2 separate regions of the Homo sapiens genome follow, and region 2 is linked to region 1. The links are contacts of gene promoters, found by promoter capture Hi-C in human tissues and cell types (Jung and others, 2019). All regions are on one chromosome and are shown on one strand. Each heading gives the region's core, a stretch centred on a gene start or on the middle of the fragment in contact. The rest is flanking DNA. Distances are from core to core; before and after follow the strand shown.

What was found. Contacts are between HindIII fragments. The study calls those that stand out against the background at their distance.
Region 2: a fragment that was not itself captured here is called in contact with the fragment with the promoter of DCTN3 in region 1 in 2 of the 25 tissues and cell types used here (dorsolateral prefrontal cortex and thymus).

Annotation. Positions count from the first base shown.
Region 1 is chr9:34,616,958-34,623,621 of GRCh38, reverse strand. DCTN3 (dynactin subunit 3) reads left to right here and starts at 3,127. Exons shown (of 7, transcript NM_007234.5): 1 at 3,127-3,253; 2 at 4,862-4,946; 3 at 5,651-5,737. The coding sequence starts at 3,158. ARID3C (AT-rich interaction domain 3C) reads left to right here. Exons shown (of 8, transcript NM_001017363.4): 5 at 1-197; 6 at 1,093-1,275; 7 at 1,513-1,602; 8 at 2,064-2,573. The coding sequence ends at 2,164. The HindIII fragment of the contact is 3,867 bases long and covers 3,058-6,664 here.
Region 2 is chr9:34,362,336-34,368,683 of GRCh38, reverse strand. It overlaps MYORG (myogenesis regulating glycosidase), which reads left to right. Exons shown (of 2, transcript NM_020702.5): 2 at 1-2,018. Among named protein-coding and RNA genes, the nearest start is that of MYORG, 11 kb to the left of the region's middle. The HindIII fragment of the contact is 4,076 bases long and covers 3,061-6,348 here.

The sequences.
Region 1 (6,664 bases), core at 1,878-4,377:
GGGCCGTCGCCAGGCTTACACCGCTACTCCGCTCTTCGGCTTGGCAGGGCCGCCCCCTCGGGGCGCTCAGGACCCAGCCTTGGGTCCCGGCCCCGCCCCTCCGGCGACCCAGTCCAGCCCTGGCCCAGCCCAGGGTTCCACCTCCGGCCTGCCAGCGCATGCATGCGCTCAGCTGAGTCCAAGCCCTATTAAGAAAGGTGCGAGGGGAGAATGGTAGAGGTTTCGGGGTCTCTGAGGTTTAGGTGGGCGCTAAGATATAGCAACCATTAAAATGTGAGGATTGAGGTCTGGGGAGGCATTGAGGTATGGGAGCAGTAAGGTCTGACGGGCTTCTGAGGTTTGGGGGTCACTAAGGTTTAGGGGTCCTGAGGTTTGCGGCCAAATGAGAGCTCTGGGGTACGGGTTACTGAAGTGTAGGGGCTGAAGTTCAGGAAAAGGTCCTTTTTTTTCTTTTTTTCTTTTTTTTTTTTTTTTGTGAGACGGAGTCTCGTTCCGTCGCCCAGGCTGGAGTGCAGTGGCGCGATCTCAGCTCACGGCAACCTCCGCCTCCCGGGTTCAAGCGATTCTCCTGCCTCAGCCTCCCGAGTAGCTGGGACTACAGGGGCCCGCCACCATGCCCGGCTAATTTTTGTATTTTTAGTAGAGACGGGGTTTCACCGTGTTAGCCAGGATGGTCTCGATCTCCTGACCACGTGATCCGCCCTCCTCCGCTTCCCAAAGTGTTGGGATTACAGGCTGAGTCACCGCGCCCGGCCAGGAAAAGGTCCTTTAATCACAGCAACTCCATTCCACACATGTCCACCCAGTGCTCCTATTTGCATATAGTTTGTGCCTCTTGTGACCTGGATTATTTAATAACCAACAGCCAAAAACAATCCCCCAAATTGTCTAGACATGTACCTTGATCCTTTGGGCTCTAGAGAAAAGCTTCAGCGCTTCCAGGCTGAGGCTCTGGATGGGAAGATAGATCGAATGAAGGATGAGAGATTGGTACATGAGCTTGAGTTACCTCTTTTGGTCCCAGGCCTGGGGGAGAACCAATGCAGAGATGGGTTGGTTTGGCCAGGGGAGCTGAATAACCTGTTCTTCTAGAGGAGAGTGGAATTCCAAACCCTTGTCTGGCACTGCCTGTGGGCCTGGCACTGGGACCTACACGGGAGAAATTGGCACCAGAGGAGCCCCCAGAGAAGAGAGCTGTGCTGATGGGGCCTATGGACCCACCTCGACCTTGCATGCCCCCCAGTTTCCTGCCCCGTGGCAAGGTTCCCCTGAGGGGTGAGGAGGGGCTTGTTGTGAGGGGGCTTCGGGACTGTACACTGAGGGAGGATTGACCCATCACCTGATAGGTGTTAGAGACGGGGCAGACAGATTCCTCTGTAGACAACTGTGTGAGTATAGGTGTGGGGCTGAAGTGGAATGGGGGCTGTCTACGGGGATGGAGGGGGGAAATTCTATTAATAAGTCAGAAGTCTGATTCTCCAAAATGTGATTCCTCTGCCCCCTCCTGGACAGAAGAGCGGCTGGATGGGCCTCTTAATCTGGCAGGCAGTGGCATCAGCAGTATCAACATGGCCCTAGAGATCAACGGGGTGGTCTACACTGGTATGGGTACTGCAGGCTGTCTACACTGGCATGGGGTCAGGGGTATTTAGGCTGGCATGGGGATTTTAGACTTCCTCTACTAGCATGAAGTTCAGGGATATCTAAACTTGCATGAGTAACATGGAGTTCAGGGGATTGCTAGACTGGCATGGGTTAAAGGGGGTGTCTACATGGCATGGGATCCAAGGCATGACCTCTCTGGCATGAGTACCAGGGGATGTCTGCCTTGTCTTGGGCCTATGTATCAGCATAAATATTCCTTGTTTACCTGTTTGAGGTATCTACATTAGCAATGGAGTCTCTTACTGACCCAAGGAGCTTGTCCTCATTGGTTTGTGGCAGGGGTACGTGTGTAGTGTTCTAGCAACCAGAACACTTACTTTTGTTCCCCTCTTCTGTTTCCATACCCTACCCCCTCCTGCTTGTTTTTGCCCTCTACCATCTCCTCACCCCTTTGCCAGGTGTCCTCTTTGCCCGCCGCCAGCCTGTGCCAGCTTCCCAGGGTCCAACCAACCCTGCACCCCCACCCTCCACAGGGCCCCCTTCCAGCATCTTGCCCTGAGAGGTCCTACTTGAAACTAAGAGTCCCAGCCCCATTGCTGAGGGGGGAGGAGACCCCCTGCTTTGATTCTTTCTGGCTGCCCACTCTGGGACCCAGCCCTGGGAGGGGACGACACCTCCCATGCCATGTGGACTTAAAACCAAAGTTTCTTTTGATGTTACACCTACCTCATTGTAAAGGGAGGGCACCTCCTCCCTGGCCAATTCCAGCAGCACCTACCAAAGGGTTCTTCCTCCAGTAACCCCATCATCTCCTCATGTGTTCCCTCTGTCAATGTCATCTCTAGGACCCTACCCTTTTGAGTCAGCCCTGCTTCTCTTCAGGAGCCAAGTGAAAGGTTGGGTTGGGGTACTGTGAAAGAGACATCCCTCAGGTCACATCTAGACAATAAAGCTGCGGTCCCTCCCTCTCTGATGCCTCCTTTCTTGTTTGGGTATGGGAGGTGGGGAGGAATGATGTGGAACATAGGCTGCCTTGGGCCAGGGGCTTTCAGAGGTTAAGGCAGAATAGCAAAGTTTCGTGAGAATAGAAGAGCTCCGTCTCTTGAATCAGACAGCCTGAGTTCAAGTCCTGTTTCTGTCCCTATAGTGCTGGGTGGCCTTGGGCAAGTTACTTAATCAACTGAACCTTAGAAGACTCCAAAAGTTTATGGTAACTCACGGAGCCTCCTAATGATGTATCTATGGGAATGGACCTATCCTGGAACACGTGCAAACTCAGGGAATGGCGTGGGGAAAGCTCTTTGGTACCCGAAAAGCAAAGGTTATCTTGACAACCAGGCACTGGAAGCCAGGGGAGGGATGGGACAGAGCCGTTGCCAAGGTAATCAGCTTTTGACAGCTCCGAGGAGTAACTTCCGGCACTGAAGGGCTGAATCATGGCGTCACTTCCTGCATAAAGGGCCGCTCGTGCACTCGGATTGGCTAGCCTTCTTATTTGGACTGACGTCCCGCCCTCTGGCTGTTTCCTGGCCGAGGTGGGTCGGTAGTAGCGATGGCGGGTCTGACTGACTTGCAGCGGCTACAGGCCCGAGTGGAAGAGCTGGAGCGCTGGGTGTACGGGCCGGGCGGGGCGCGCGGCTCACGGAAGGTGAGTAGTCTGGTCCGGTAGTCCCTTTCTGGAGCAGAGCAAGAGCGGTCCACTGTCCTGGCCCTCGGGATGCAACCGCTCCAGTCCTGTTCTCCGCAGCCCGGCCTTTGAAATAACAAAGGTCCGGGACCTCCCAGAGCTGATTGGACCATCGGGGTCCACTGTCATAGGGGGCTCTGCGGGTGGTTAAGCCAGCCTGAGAGTGGGCTCCGTACCTACTGTAGCTGAGACTCCGCCCTTGCCCTCGCGAGCTATAGTTGGGGAGACCTGACACGAGAAGCTGACTAATGAGAGTTTCAATAAGAGCTGAAGTCCACGATAGGAAGGCCCGTCATAGAGCCCTGCATAATTAATTGCTAAATGAATTGTGCAGGAAGAGGTCCATGGGACCCCTGGGGAGGCAGAGCAGAGGTGGATAAGGAAAACGCCAAAGGGTGAGAAGTGAGGTCTGAAAGGACCAGGATTAGGAAGGGAAGAGACTGGGTACTGGGTATTCAGATGTGGACTAGCACTGCTTTATACCAGTGACAGAATTTTGACAACTACGAAGCTCAGGTGCCCTCTCCTCCCCTTTCTACTATGGGAAGATCTTTTATTGAAGAACTTCTGATGGCGTGTCAGGCATGTCCTGGAGCTAAGTGCGTCCAAGGTAATGATGTCTGTTTGTACACTAAATGAGGAATTAGTTGTCACTAGCAGACTGTGCTCCCATTTCAGAACTAACTTCTCAAACATTCTCTTCCTTTGGGATCTATGACGCTGACCCTCCTGGTTTTCCTTCTACCTCTTACGGCTGCTTCTCAGTGTTATTTGCCTCCCCCCTGGCATTCCTCATCCTCTACCCTAAAAACTGGGTGAGTGCAGTCACTTCCTTAGTCTCCTCCTCTATTTGACCCTTTAATATTGGGATTCTTTACATTCTACCCCTAAACTTTAGGTAGGCTCACTCGCTTCCATGGTGTCAATTACTATTTACATGTCAATATGTCTCAAATGTATATCTCTGGTCCAGATTTCTGTTCTGAGAACCAGACTTTTATGTCTAGTTGTCTACTGGACTTTTCCACTTGGATATCCAATAGTCATTTCAAACTCAATCTGTATGCCCTTAACTGTACTCTTTCTCTCCCCTAACCTGATTCTCTTCTGTATTCCCTAATTCAGTGATTGCACCATCATTGGGATCCCAGTTGTTTGGACTCTTCCATCTCCCACACCAAATTTGATGTGGAGGGGATAGGGCTAGAGGTAGGCCAGCCAATCTAGAGGTCATGAAGGCTTGAATGAGGATGCTTGTGTTTCTCATGCCCAAACCCAGGACTTAGGAACCAGAAAATATATTGTGTATACTCTATATTCCATAGACTCTAAAATAGTTCGTTATCTTCCCCATCAGACTTGAAACTCCCCAAGGAGTACATGATTCTCTCTCTCCACTTTAAGGATTCCTGGAAGGTGGGGCTGCATCTCCTTTAATATTAGAGAAGGGAGGCCAACCTAGATTACTGGGATTCAGGTTTGAGAGTCTGGGAGAATGAGGGTTCTTTAACTTTTCCAAGCCTTGAGCCAGGTAGTATATCTTGGAATTAACCACCACTTCCCTTACAGGTGGCTGACGGCCTGGTCAAGGTGCAGGTGGCTTTGGGGAACATTTCCAGCAAGAGGGAGAGGGTGAAGATTCTCTACAAAAAGAGTAAGTGCTTCCATGATGTGCCTGCCTGCCCGACATCCCACCCCTCAGCTTCCTGGTACCTGGCCCTAGCCCTTCAGTTCATTAGGTCACTGGAATAGCCCTTTGGGGATAGAAAGATTATGAGGACATTTACCTACACCCAATTCAATTGGTAAATTGTGGTGTGCTTTTCTACCTTGTGGCTAAACCTCAAGCCCATGACAGTGTCCTAAGTTATGAAATAAGAGCTCTACCTGAAAGCTTCTCTTGGTGAAGGAGGGTAAAAAGGGTATGGGATTTCCCAGGCAAGGTTAAGGGGCAGGAAACAAATTAGACACTGAGATCCTGGTTATGTCAGAACTAGTAACCTGCTTAGTAACTAGAAATTAGACAAAGCTCTGGCTTGTCTCGGTGACATCTAGGAGAAAAGAGGCCTTCTACCCTTGGTGAGGATAGGTCAGTGAGAATGCTAAGGGCCCAGAGTGGTGGTGGCAATTGTGTTTTCAGCTCTGAAGCTTGATGTCAGAAGAGACTTCAAGAGAAGAGAGTGGAGAGATAGGGAAGTGGGGATAGGGAGCCTGGTGGAGCCCTGCTCATGTGGCACTGTTGGGTATCAGCTCCTCATTGAAGGCTCTCCTCAAGGCTGACCACTTGTCAAACATCCTTCATAAGGCAGAGCTCTACTGCCCAACCCTATTCCATTTTCCATCTTGCTACTTTTCTAGTTGAAGATCTGATCAAGTACCTGGATCCTGAGTACATCGACCGCATTGCCATACCTGATGCCTCTAAGCTGCAATTCATCCTAGCAGGTAATGCTGGACTACATGTGTACATGCATCTGAGGATGTGGGTCGTCGGGGAGGTTAAGCACAGAGATGGCCTCTCCATCCAGTCTTCTGGTGGATACAAGCCCTGGATGCTGCTCTCTGGAATTGTGGCCTGGTTCTGGGTTGAGGATCCTATGGATCCTCTAGTAGACATTGAGTACAGTATACCTCTGCACCAGCTGCAGGCCATGGTGCCAGCCACAGTGGGAGCTAGTCCAGTGTTCTATCAATAGTTTGCCTCTTGGATTTTCCTTCAGAACCTTCCTCACTTCTGCTCACTAGACAGAGGAGCTTCTAGGAAAGGGTAGGGGCAGAGAGCATTGCCATTAAAGAACAGAGAGAGTATTGGCATGAGTTTCAACATCTTTCTTTCATGTGAGAAAGCTCTGCAGTGTCAGAGTTCTAGGCAGGAACTATTGCCTTGGCAATGTCTGCTAATCAGTCAGCCATTCTATAAGCTAGGGTTTTTTGAGCTTCGTTATTCATCCAAAAGATGTATAATGATCATCTACTCTGATCCAGGTTCTTTCCTAAGTGAGGAAGCATACAGTGGTGAACCAGAAAGTCCCTGCCCTCATGGGCACAGCCAGAGCTAGGGGAGACAGGGTCCCTGCTTCAGGGACCTGAGCTTATAACCCAGATGGGAGATCAGTCTCCCAGGAGACTGATCAGTGCAATGCAGCACTGAGGACTGGGTAAGGATGGGCCACTCCTGCTAAAAGGGCTGTCAGAGTTCCCAAAGGGCTCTTGGTCAATTGCCATCGCTCAAGCACCAAGTTTAGATATTCTCCTGCACTGACTCTTGAGTCCAGCCTCTCCATCCCTCCCTGTGGCACTGCCTCAGGAATTGTGCATCCACTTGCATATGAATGGTTGCACAGTCTCCTAAATCATACTCTTGACCCTAAT
Region 2 (6,348 bases), core at 3,849-6,348, 260 kb after region 1:
ATAATGATTGGGACATGAAATCCAGGCTGAGTTGGTCTCAGATAGCGATGAGGAACTTGTTTGGTACTGGAGTAAAGGTGACTCTTGCTATATTTTAGCAAAGAGACTGGCTGCATTTTGCCCCTGCCCTAGAGATTTGTGGAACTTTGAACTCGAGGGAGATGATTTAGGGTATCTGGCAGAAGAAATTTCTAAGCAGCAAAGCATTCATGAGGTGACTTGGGTGCTGTTAAAAGCATTCAGTTTTAAAAGGGAAACAGACTATAAAAGTTTGGAAAATTTGCAGCCTGATGATGAGATAGAAAAGAAAAACCCATTTTCTGAGGATAAATTCAAGCCCCCTGCAGAAATTTGCATAAGTAACAAGGAGCCAAATGTTAATCACTAAGACATGGGGAAAATGTCTGCAGGGCATGTCAGAGACCTTTGCAGCAGTGCCTCCCATCACAGGCCTGGAGGCCTAGGAGGGAAAAAATGGTTTTGTGGGCCAGGCCCAAGGTCCCCTTGCTGTGTGCAGCCCAGGGACTTGGTACCATGCATCCCAGCTGCTCTAGTCATGGCTAAAAGGGGCCAAGATACAGCTCAGGCCTTGGCTTCAGAGGGTGCAAGCCCCAAGTCTTGGCATCTTCCACGTAGTGTTGAGCCTGCAGGTGCACAGAAGTCAAGAACTGAGGTTTGGGAACCTCTGCCTAGATTTCAGAGAATGTATGGAAATGCATGTATGTCCAGGCAGAAGTTTGCTACAGGAGTGAGGCCCTCATGGAGAACCTCTGTTAAGGCAATGTGGAAGGGGAAGCCCCCACACAGAGACCCCACTGGGACACTGCCTAGTAGAGCTGTCAGAAGAAGGCCACCGTCCTCCAGACATCAGAATGGTATATCCACTGACAGCTTGCACCATGCACCTGGAAAAGCCACAGACACTCAACGCCAGCCTGTAAAAGCAACCGAGAAGTAGGCTGTACCCTGCAATGCCATAGGGGTGGAGCTGCCCAAGACCATGGGAACCCACCTCCTGCATCAGTGTGACCTGGATGTGAGACATGGAGTCAAAGGAGACCATTTTGGAGCTTTAAGATTTAACTGCCCTGCTGGATTTCAGACTTGCATGGGGCCTTTAGCCACTTCGTTTTGGCCAACTTCTCCCACTTGAAATGGGTGTATTTAGCCAATGCCTGTACCTCCGTTGTATCTAGGAAGTAACTAACTAGCCTTTGATTTTACAGGCTCATAGGTGGAAGGGACTTGCCTTGTTTCAGATGAGACTTTGGAGTATGGACTTTTGAGTTAATGCTGAAATGAGTTAAGACTTTGGGGGACTGTTGGGAAGGCATGATTGATTTTTAAATGAGAGGACATGAGATTTGGGAGGGGCCAGGGAGAGAATGATATGGTTTGGCTGTGTCCCCATCCAAATATCACCTTAAATTGTAGCTCCCATAATTGTGGGAGGGACCTGGTGGGAGATAATTGAATCATAGGGGCAGTTTCTCCCATACTGTTCTGGTGGTAGTGAATAAGTCTCACGAGATCTGATGGTTTAATAAGGGGTTTCCCCTTTTGCTTGGCTCTCATTCTCTCTTGTCTGCTGCCATGTAAGATGTGCCTTTTGCCTTCCACCATGATTGTGAGGCCTCCCAGCCACATGGAACTGTGAGTTCATTAAACCTCTTTTTCTTCATAAATTACCCAGTCTCGGGTATGTCTTTATCAGCAGTGTGAAAACAGACTAATACACCACTCCTCTACCTTCTTTATTTTCTCAGTGTGGAAAATGCCTGATGAAAGCTTTGGGGCCCTCACAGATGCACAACTCAAGTGCTGATTCTATCACTTATCTACCAGCTCTGTGACCTTGAACAAGCCGCTTAACCTTGCTAAGCCTCTGTTTTCTCATATGTCAAATGGTGATAATAATGCCTACCTCCCGAGGTTGTTGTAAGAATTATAAGCACAAATGTATGTAAAGTGCCTGGCACAAAGTAGGTGCTCAATAAATGGTAGCTATTATAATACTATTTCTTGTTTTATTGATTAAAAACAAGGATCCTTCTAGAACCCAGCTCTCAGCCTGGATGGCTTTCTCTGGGCCTGCTGTGACACCCCCTCCCCCGTCCTCTGTACATAGCACCAGTTGAACTCTGAGTTTGTGACCCAAGGGACACTGTAGTCCAGGAGAAAGGCAAAAAGAGAGATACCTCAAGGTGGGATGTCAGGAGCCAGGATTCCTGGGTCCCTGGGAGATGGAAAGTGAATATAGTTTCTCTCCTTTTCATCAAGTGTCTACCATCTACCAACTGATACTCACTGATAAGCCTCCCCAGGCCCTGGTGTCCAGCCATGTGCTCTAGAGTAAGTGTAGAAGGAGAACCCCAGGCTGGGCCCTGGAAAGTTCCTTAAATGGCTGGAGAACATGACCCACATTTGAATGGTTCTCCAGCTTTCTATGCAACCTGAAACCAGTTTTACCTAACCTTGGTTTCTTCATCTTTAAAATGGAATTTCTAGGATTCACTGAGATGTGTATAAAACCCTATGCAGGGGGAGTGGGGAGGAATAGCATTAGGAGATATACCTAATGTAAATGACGGGTTAACGGGTGCAGCACACCAACATGGCACATGTATACATATGTAACAAACCTGCACGTTGTGCACATGTACCCTATAACTTAAAGTATAATAAATTAAGAAAAAAAAAGAGGAAAAAAATAAATAAAACACACAAAAATTGGCAAAGAGTAAGTGCTCAATAAATGGTAACTCCTATGAACTATTATAAACAAGGAACAAAGAGAGAAAAGCCTTGGCTAGAACCTGTATTGTCCAATATGGTAGTGAGTAGCCACATATGGCTTCTTAAATTTACTTCTAAAATTAATTAAAATTCAGTTCTTTAGGCACATTAGCCACACTTCAAATGTTCAACAGCCATATGTGACTAGTGGCTAATATATTGGACAGTGCAAATTATAGAACTTTTCCATAGTTGCAACAAGTATTATTGGACAGCCCTGGACCAAGCAGTGTATGACATGGGGGGGAAGAAGATAATCTGTGAGGCTTCCCTGGAGGAGGAGTACCTTTTAGAAGGGCATTGAAGGCAGGCAGGAGTGTCTGACGGCCTGGATGGAAACCAGACTGCACACCTTGTCTGGGCAAATTCCAACAAACTGGCCCTTGGCTTGGGATCTGGTTTCTTGTCTGGCTTCTGCCATTGACCCCATTAATCACAAAAGCACAGATGAACAAACTGAAGCTCTGAGAGAGGAGGGTATTGGCCTGAGGTCATATGGAAAATTAGTAACCACAGCTGCACTAGAACGTTGGTATCCTGTTTGCAGGGATCTAGAATCTCAGACCCAGAACTCATCCCCTTTCAACAGCATGGCCCATCCCAGTCTGTATACCTCCAAGGATGGGAGCTAGCTGAAATGTGCATCTCTGAAGCTGCCACCAAGTGGGCCTGATTCTAGGCCGAGAAGTGTTTCCCCTTTCTCCATTGATGCTAAAAAAAGATTCAAGTAATTGGGAGGGCATGCTGAAATGTCAGGATTCACGAGGATCTTTCTTGGAGTTAGGGAAAGAGAAAAGAACTGGGCTGCCAGCTATCCCTATCCCTAATTTCCCAGGGTGCCAGGAACCCTGGCTCCTGCCAGCCTTTTCCAGTCCCTTATCCCTGCACATTCCAAATTTATCTCTCTCTGCACATCTGGATCTGGGTGGGGGCGGGTGCTGACCCTCCCCTGTGGAGCTTCCAGCAGCCTTGTTGTAGCCAGAATTCCTCACTGGTCTGCCCTCTACCCCTGGGCTGGTGGGTGGTGGGTGTGATATGCATAAATGGGAACTCCCTTCAGGAGTACTGGGGATGAACTGAGTGGCCATTGCAGGAAGCCTGGGACTGGAGCCTAGGCTCCCATTCTGTGACCTTCTGTTCCTGAGAGTGTGTCTCAGTTTCCCTTCCAACACTATATGAATGGGTTGAGCCCCAGCCAAGCCTGCTCTATGAGCCCAAGCTATGGGTTTTCTGGGAGAGTTTTTGTTGTTGTTTCCCCAGATTTCTAACCCTGGATCTGGCTCCAGAGCAAATCTTATTCTCCTGGTTCCCCTCACCAAGTACTCTGGTCGTTTCTCCCCTCCCTGAGTAAGGGCCAATGTTGACTTCTTTGTCCCCTGGCCACTATCCCACATCAGACCTAATCAACTGGAGCCTGGACCACTGTAGTGGTCTCCTAATTCTTTCCGCTCTTGGACCCGGCAAACCACCAATCCACACAGCAGCCAAGGAAATCTTCGTGAAATTCAATCATGTCATTTAGAAAAAAATCAAAGCTTTGGTGTTCAAGGCATCTATGATGTGGCTTCTTTTCACTCCTCTGTCTCTGCTTCTGTGAGGGAGACACACACACACAAACACACACACACACACACACCCCATCATATTTTGAAAGGCATTTGAAGAAATACTACCTTCTATTCTGGAAACAGCTATACCACCATCCCTTCCAGGAAAGGTCTGCACAGACTCAGCCTTGAAGAAAAATGCAGTGGCAACTGCGTGGTTTCCTTTCCTGCCATTGTTCGACTCAGTGGGGCTTCTGCTGATACCCTACCCTCTCCAGACACACCCCTGCTCCCAAGGAAGCAGCCTGCTTTTTATCTTAAGGCTAGTCCTGCCCAAGGATCTTTCCAGCAGCTTGAGGAGAGGGTAGAATACTCGGCCTTATGCGGCGAGCCCTGGGTTGCATGGCTCCAGGGTTGCGGGGAGGTATGGGAGAAAACAGAAGAGGAGGCCCCGTTCTGGGGAGCTCTCAGTCTAGAGAACAGGAAAAGGTTGTGCCTCTTGTGCTCTGTATTCTTGTGCTGTTTTTCCCTCTCAGGCCCCTTTTCCCTCCCCAGGGAGTCTAGTTGAGAACTTCCTATTACATAATCCTGAGCAGGATGGCGGCGGGAGGGGACGGAAAGTGGATTTGGTAGGGATTGGGGAAAGGCAGACAATCGGTCTCACCGAGACTGGGCCCCCGTAGCACAGCTTCAAGAGAGCAGCAGCAGGGGGAAGGGGGAATGGCACTTCTAGAAAAGAAAGAACGAGTTGGGCCAAAGGATGGATGGCTAGAGGTCAGAGCCTCTACTCCCCAAACATAGGGGCCTCACTTGGGGTCACATATCTGCACAGGAATTTCAATTGAAATCCTACCATTATAACTTCATTCCTTAAAGTCTTCAATTCAGCAAACAAGCACTTTCAGTAGAGGTGTAAGGCATTGTTTTTTAAGGTCAAAAGGGTATTTTGGTTTTCTACTGCCCCTGTGAAATGCCCCTAGGAGGTGAAAGCTTAAGACCACCCTGCTGGGGAGAGGGTCATTTGATGCTGCTTCACCCTGAGCAGTGAAGGGGTAGTGGGGAAACAGGTGGTGCTCCAGGCAGAGCCTCTTTCGTGTGGGTGGGAAAATAGGGAAAATTTCAAGGAGGAGATGCTCTGGAGCTTGGAGGGCTTCCGATTGAAGGGGAAATTGAAGTCTTAGCCCCACATGTCCCGTCGCAGGTGAAACCACATCCAATACAAGGAGGTAAACTACCCACCTTCACTGACTCCCACAATATTTACCTAGTTGCCTTCCCTATCACCCAGCCAGAGTCCACCCCACAGGGGCCAGAAGAGGTACATAGTTCCTTGCACATTTATCTCTGTGCCTGAGACATCACAAGAGATATTGGCCACTTTCTAAACCTTACAAACCTTGGGGGCCAGAACCCGGCTGGGACCAGTTCTTTCAGGCACAGGGATATACATAGTCTGTTGCACTTAGAACACTTGCTCCCTCTTCCCTCCCTAGTGCCCACAGTTGGCCTCTCAATAGTGTTATGCTTGAATTCCACTCCTAGCTATACCACTGAGCCTCCCAGACATAACCACTCTGGACCCTAGGTTGAGCCCTGACCCTGACCATTGATGATTCTGTCTGGACCCCACATCCTCTAAACATGACACAGAAGCCAGACTGGGACTTTGTGGCCCCTGCTCAGGGGCAGGGAAGTTTTGAGTCTATGTTAAAACATGACTCTACCAAATAGTGCTTTTTCAGGTGCTGGGCACAGTGGCTCATGCCTGTAATCCCAGCACTTTAGGGGGCTGAGGAGGGAGGATTGCTTGAGACCAGGAGTTTGAGACCAGCCTGGCTAATATAGTAAGACTCCATCTCTTTAAAACAAATAAATAGTTCTTTTCGTATAAGTAAATTTCTAGAAAAAATCAAAAGCACAAAATAAATTATTTTTTTTTTTTTTTTTCTGAGACAGTCTTGTTCTGTCACCCAGGCTGGAATGCAGTGGCGTGATCTCAGCTCAC